2 separate regions of the Homo sapiens genome follow, and region 1 is linked to region 2. Evidence: promoter capture Hi-C in 16 types of primary human blood cells and fetal thymus (Javierre and others, 2016). All regions are on one chromosome and are shown on one strand. The core of a region is centred on a gene start or on the middle of the fragment in contact, and the rest is flanking DNA. Distances in the headings are between cores, read along the strand shown. Region 1 overlaps USP42 (ubiquitin specific peptidase 42). Region 2 holds the start of CYTH3 (cytohesin 3).

Region 1 (3,124 bases), core at 314-2,813, 130 kb after region 2:
AAAAAGAAAAAAGAAACAAAATTTTCATTTAGTAGTATGATGTTCACTTTTATAAATCTACATACCAAATTATATCCTCTCCCATTTAAAAATGAGCAGAATTAAAGTGAACAAAAATATAGAGGATGCTCACTGCAGCAATACATAAAACTGGAAGCAAACCAAATATCCACCAGCAAGGAATTCGGCACAGGAATTACAGTCTATCCATTCACTGCACCACACACTGCCCAGAGAGCACGCTCACACAGAAAGGTCTCAACAGAATTACACGGAACAGTGAGTGGCCAGACAGACATCAGACACAATCTCATTTATATAAAAAGTGAACAATACATTCTGGAGCAGTACATATCAAACTGTTAAAAATAATGCATTCAAAAGGAAAGGATTTTACATATATCTGCAACGTTACTCATTTTTATCATAAGCATGTATTACATCTGTAATCAGAAAAATGCAAGCTCAAAAACAACAAAAAAATTAGGAATTCAGAAAATGCAAGAGGCAGGCTGGGCACAGTCGCTGTAGTCCCAGCTACTAGGGAGGCTGAGACAGGGGAAATGCTTGAACCCTGGAGGTGGAGGATGCAGTGAGCTGATATTGCGCCACTGCACTCCAGCCTGGGCAATGGAGCAAGACTCCATCTCAAAAAAAAAAAATAATAATAACCAACTGTACTTGGCTAATATAGAAAATCTAGTTTTATTAAGATATTAAATGAAAATTCAGGCCGGGCGCGGTGGCTCACGCCTGTAATCCCAGCACTTTGGGAGGTGGGCAGATCACGAGGTCAAGAGTTCAAGACCATCCTGGCCGATAGGTGAAACCCCATCTCTACTAAAAATACAAAAATTAGCTGGGCATGGTGGCACATGCACCTATAGTCCCACCTACTCGGGAGGCTGAGGCAGAAGAATTGCTTGAACTCGGGAGGTGGAGGTTGCAGTGAGCCGAGATCACGCCACTGCATGCCAGCCTGGGTGACAGAGTGCAATTCCATCTCAAAAAAAAAAAAAAAAAAAGAAAAGAAAAAGAAAATTCAAAGAGTAATAAAAAAACTTTAAAAGCTTTTTTATGATGCTTACTACAAAGCTTGAATAATTCCTCCAAATGAAATCTTAGCATATTGAATTTTTCAATTTATATTCTCTAACAAGTAGTCTAAATTATAAATGAACTACAGTTACATAAAATGACTTATTTTAAAAATGTAATTACTCCCATAATTATGAAATTTACCTTTATCTCCAATGTTATATCAAGATATGGATCAAAAGTATCTGAAACGCCCTTGCAATTTAAACATTTGACTGAAATAAAAATAAAATGCAAAAGATGAGCAAAGTATAATCATTACAGCAACATCAACTACTGAAATGACAAAATACAATTTTGAAATTTAAAATTTTTTAACTGTAATTTTTCTATCAATTGAACAAAAAAAGTTTTAAATTAATACTACTCATAATATGGGTGAAAAGTGTAATGAATTTGGCCCCTCATATACTATTGATTAGAATCAAAACTGGTATACCCTCTTAGAAGACAACCTGACAGAATTAAAATTTACAATACACACTCCCTGTGATCCAGAAATTCTAATACTAAGAATTCATCCTACATATACATTTTTACCCAGACATAAAGCATGTGTGCACGGATGCTCCATGAACAACAACAAAACACAAACAACCTAAATCCCATCGATAGGGGACTAAAATAAATGGAACACTACTCCAACTGTCGAAGGCTGTTAGGCCTGTGTGCTGAAATGTAAAAGACTGCTAATACGAAGAGACAAATGGAAGCAGTGCACACAGTATGCTCCCAGTTTATTCATGCACAGGAAACTACCAGGAGGATTTACTACAACCTGGCACCGAGGCTGCCTCTGGGTAAAAGGAATGAGAATCTGGGCTGGAGAGAAGCACTTTTCCTTCCTTCCTAGTAGGACTAACCCTGTCCTACTATTACCATTTTTTAACCACATGTGTGTATCATTTTATCAACTTATAAGCAAAAGCTTACCTCTAGATCTTAGGTATCCTCCAAATATCTGACAAACAAGAGTGGTGGCCTGGGTGTGTCTGTCTAATCTGAAAAACGTTGAACAGTGACATGAGAGAAGAGCTTTGCAAAAACTCCAGATGCTGTGACCAGATTTCAAACACATGGGAGCTCACAAAAGATCAAGAATTCAAACAGGACAGCCATGGAAAATAAAAGGATGGCACGTGTGGCAGCCCAAGAGCATCCCTTCCTGGCCAGAACACAGGGAGGTCTGGGAGTGGCGGGAGGAGACGCAGAGCTGTGGGAGCTGTGTCTGTCAGGAAGGGACTCGGGAAGCAAGGCAGGAGTCTGGTCCTGAAGCAGGAAGATGGCAGCCTCCGGGCACTGCGGCCTGTGTGGGAGGAAAGGGAGCGGAGGCGGAAAAGGCAGAGAGTCTTCCTCCGACCCAAGTATGTCATCACCCGGACAATGAAGTCCTAGACAGGGCGGTGCCAGGGCAGGGAGAATGCAGAGGGAGATCTACCAGGTGTCTCAGACAGCACCAAGCGGCTTGGGATGCATTATCTGTCCCCTCGTTCTTCCTCTTGAGTCTGCATTTAGATTTTAAGGAACTAGCTACAAGAATCAGTAACTGATTGGGGTGGGGGTTCAGGAAATAAACACAGGCTGGAGGGCAGCAGAGAAAAGAAAATGTCAGGCACAACTAGAAAGGAGAAGCAGCTAGTTTGAGATCTGCAGACGTCTGCTGATAATGAGAAATTAAATAGCTGCAAGACCAATGTTTATTTCCTGACATCTATGATTGAGCCAACTCAAACTGTTACGTAAGACACACGTGTAAATTTCAACCATTTTAAAATAATGCACATCACCTAAGGAAGAGGCAGAGCAAAGCCAAAAGGTAAAGTGAACACTGTTCTGTGTGCTTCCAACAAAAAAGGTGAAAATGAATTCTGATAAGAATAAACTACAACCAGAGATCCCCAATGAAGACATGGCTGGCGCTCTGTTGTACTTACTTATTGCTGCCATTCAAGCATGCTTTCTGCATAGCATCAACAGTGTATTGAAGGAATTCATGGGCATCTTCTTGGTTTCCAAAACGGAAGTG
Region 2 (3,449 bases), core at 757-3,256:
GGCTGTGCTTTAGTCTGATGAAAATTAGATTAGATGGAGATCAGAGAAGCCACTTTCAGATTAAAACTCTGAGAAAAGCACCTGTGGATCACATTCTAAGACACCTAAAGAATTAAGATTGACATGAAAAAGCATTTATAATTGATAGTATCTTTGAGTTCAAAGCTCTGCATATCTCATTATCAAGTTCAAAGTAATGCTGTCATTTTTTCTCAGTAACGATGCTCTTATCTCCAAGATGACAAAGCTGACGGGAACAAGATCAGGAAGCCGAGTCTGGGGGTTGGGAGTTGAACCCTACATCTCCTGACTCCCAGACCCCTTTTCTGGTGCCTCTTTGTCACTCAAGCTGTCAAACACCTTTGCACGCAGCAGTGTCCCTTGGCTGGGTGTGGTGGCTCATGCCTGTAATCCCAGCACTTCGGGAGGTCAAGGTGGGAGGATCGCTTGAGTCCAGAAGTTTGAGACAAGCATGGGCAAACATGGCAAGATCTCGTCTCTAAAAAAGAATACAAAAATTAACCGATGCATGGTGGCATGTACCTATGGTCCCAGCTATTTGGGAGGCTGAAGTGTGAGGATCACTCGAGACACTGCATGCCAGACTGGGCAATAGAGCGAGACCCTGTCTCAAAAAAAAAGTGTCCCTCGTGGGTTTGGTTGCATGAGAATGCTTGGTGTTCAATTCTTGAGGTTATTAGAAGATTGAACTTTGAAATCATCCCGCAACCTTGAACCAAAAGGTGAAATTGTCCACTTTGATAGATGACAACGGAAGGATCCTTTGGTTCAATGGACAGCTTGTAAATATAAAACAGTTGCTGGAAAATTATATTAGAGATGAGCTATCTCCTCCATTACAATGTTTGCTTTTCTTTAATGCGATTGAGTTCCAACAGAAAGGCTTGGGAGGGGCCACAAGCAATGCTTCAGGAGTTACTGGAAGAGAGATATGGGGAGTGAGAGAGGAGATCCATCGATGTGGAGCAGGGGCCAGGGGAGGCCTTCTGCCCAGGAGGCCTGTGCTGAGGACCCTGGCTGTGCCCAAGGGAAACTGAATTCAGAGCTCCTCCTGCATCATAAATCCAGGACAGCTGGCAGCTCTCCAAGGAAGACTGGCGCTAAACTCCAAGGGCATCAGCCGCCAGATTGGCCAACCCCTACAATGCCCTTTGAGAGCTGAGCCCCAGGTGTGTTGAATCGGGATTCCGTTCCAACCTCATGACCACATTCATTTACAAGCCCTGCATTTTGTTAATTTAAAAATGCACTCACCAGGAGGGAAGGAGGAGAGGCTCCATTAAATATAAGACAGCTGAAAGGCTGGAATTCTTCTGACATGCATGTCTTAGGAAGGAGAAGGCCTGACCTTGTTCTTTTTTTTTTTGAGACAGGGTCTCACTCTGTCACCCAGACTGGAGTGCAGTGGTGCAATAATAACTCACTGCAGCCTCTACCTACTGGGCTCAAGTGACGTGACCTCCCACCTCAGCCTCCCCAGTAGCTGGAACTACAGGCACATGCCACCATGCCTGGGTCGCTATGTTATCGGGGCTGGTCTCCAACTTTTGTTCTCCAGCGATCCTCCCACCTCAGCCTCTCAAAGTATTGGAATACAGGTGTGAGCCACCGAGCCTGGCCAGGCCTGACTTCTGAATGCATTCGTTTCTTGATCTTTTACCCCGAGTGCACGTGCAAGTTGCACCCCTGGCCACTGGGTTTTGCAGAGTGTGGCGTTCCAGTGTCCGGGGCCCCACGCCCGTCCGCAGGCTACTGGAATGCTGAGGGCGAGGAGGCTTCGCTCCACGCACACCGGATCGGCCTGCACTTCAGGGGCCAGGTCTACAGCCTTCCCCAGCGCAGACGCCGCCGGCCCGGCCGGTTCCCGAGGGCGGGGCTGCGCGGCCTCACGCCCCGCCCACCGCGGGCAGAGGCGGGGCATGGGTCACGTGACGGCACGCCGACCAGCGAGGCCCCGCCCGGCGGGAGGAGGCCCGGCCGCGACCCGGGCCGCGCGCTGAGGAGCCGCCCGGTCGCCTGCGCGCTCCCTCCGGCGGCGTCCCCAGCCCGCGGCCCCTCTGCTGCCGGCCCCCGGCTCGCCGGCTGCGGGAGTGGCCTCAAGATGGATGAAGACGGCGGCGGCGAGGGTGGTGGCGGTGAGTGTCGGAGGTGTGGTGGGCTCGCCGGCGGCCTGGGGTCGGGGGCCGGGGGCTGGGGGTCGAGGGCGCGGCGCTGGGCCGGGGTTCGCCGGAGGAGACGGGGTCGGGGGCAGCGGCAGCGGCGTCCGCTGGAGGCCTGAGGCACGCCGGGCCAGGGCCGAGGCTGGGTCTCCGGGGGCCGAGGGAGGGGGCGGGCCGGGGTCGCCGTTCGGCGCTGGCGAGGGTCTGGGTACCAGGCCGGGGCTGCCGCGGGCTGGGGTCGCCCCGGAGTCTCGGGCCGGGGTTTGGGTGTCGCTCCTCTGGGGCGGGGGACCTTGCGGGGCGACCTTCCCCGCATCTTGTCGCCAAGGGCGTTCATGCCCTCCGGAGCCCGGCGTTTCGGACGCCCCCTTTCAGCTCAGGTGGGCGGAAGCGGCTGAGCCGGTGGGAAACCGGGAGGGGAAAGTTTTGCACTGGAGGCTCCTCGAGTGTACAGGACGGGAGGGCAGGGGAAACGGTTGGAAAGCGTGACAGTCTGCTTGGCTTTGGGTCAGAAACGGTCGCTGGATTTGCTCGAACGGGGAGGGGGCCAGCTGGAGTTCAGTTCAGGGTAGACGTTTTAGGAAACGGCAGACGCGACAGATTGAGCAAAAAACTCCGTGGAGCCGAGGGTGGGAGACACGAGCTGCACCCAGCACAGAGGCAAGACCGGAGAGCCAGGTGTGCCCGGAGCCAGGTGTGCTCCCGAGTGGGTCGGGTCGATGCGCGTCGTGGCCCAGGTGGTCTGTGTCTGACGTTCGGTTTCCTCTTGCTGGAGGAATCGTGTTTGTTGGAAATTATTTAGTGGAATACAAATGACTGCTGGGTCATGCTGGGAATTAGATTTTAAAAACAGAGGAACGTGCCTCTGTATGGAGTGGGTGTTCGCTTTGGAAAGCAAAGGGTTAATGCCCGTGTTTTTACAGGAACAGCCGAAGTTGAGGTTCTCTAGACTTTTTTTTTTTTTCCTGAAGATCTCCTTTGAGCTGACAGAGAAATCATCAGAATCATCAGAACCCCATGTAATAAGGGAGCAGTTTAGAGAAATCTTAATTACAGGCTGCCGGTGCAGCTGCCTGTAAGAATCAGCAGTATTGAATGCTTCAGGATGAAGTGGTTCATCATCAAGGTGCCTTCCAGAATTCAAGTGCTGCTCAGAGGGAGATGTTTTTTTGCTGAAAGACGCGATGCAGCCAGGATGGTGGGAAGTTGGCACCCGTCATGGCATTTGGCGAGTTCAGTTCTTATAGTTGAAGCTAGGGGTAGCACTGT

The links. Contacts are between HindIII fragments. The CHiCAGO score rates a contact against its expected background, and 5 or more counts as called.
Region 1: a fragment that was not itself captured here is called in contact with the fragment with the promoter of CYTH3 in region 2 in 2 of 17 cell types (M0 macrophages and M2 macrophages); the score reaches 6.7 in M0 macrophages.

The regions. Positions count from the first base shown.
Region 1 is chr7:6,139,103-6,142,226 of GRCh38, reverse strand. It overlaps USP42 (ubiquitin specific peptidase 42), which reads right to left. Exons shown (of 18, transcript NM_032172.3): 5 at 3,033-3,124; 6 at 2,032-2,099; 7 at 1,243-1,313. Among named protein-coding and RNA genes, the nearest start is that of USP42, 36 kb to the right of the region's middle. The HindIII fragment of the contact is 931 bases long and covers 1,098-2,028 here.
Region 2 is chr7:6,271,181-6,274,629 of GRCh38, reverse strand. It overlaps CYTH3 (cytohesin 3), which reads left to right and starts at 2,006. Exons shown (of 13, transcript NM_004227.4): 1 at 2,006-2,156. The coding sequence starts at 2,123. RefSeq lists silencers at 1,779-2,138, 2,459-2,628 and enhancers at 1,947-2,668, 2,669-3,391. The HindIII fragment of the contact is 13,610 bases long and covers 1-3,449 here.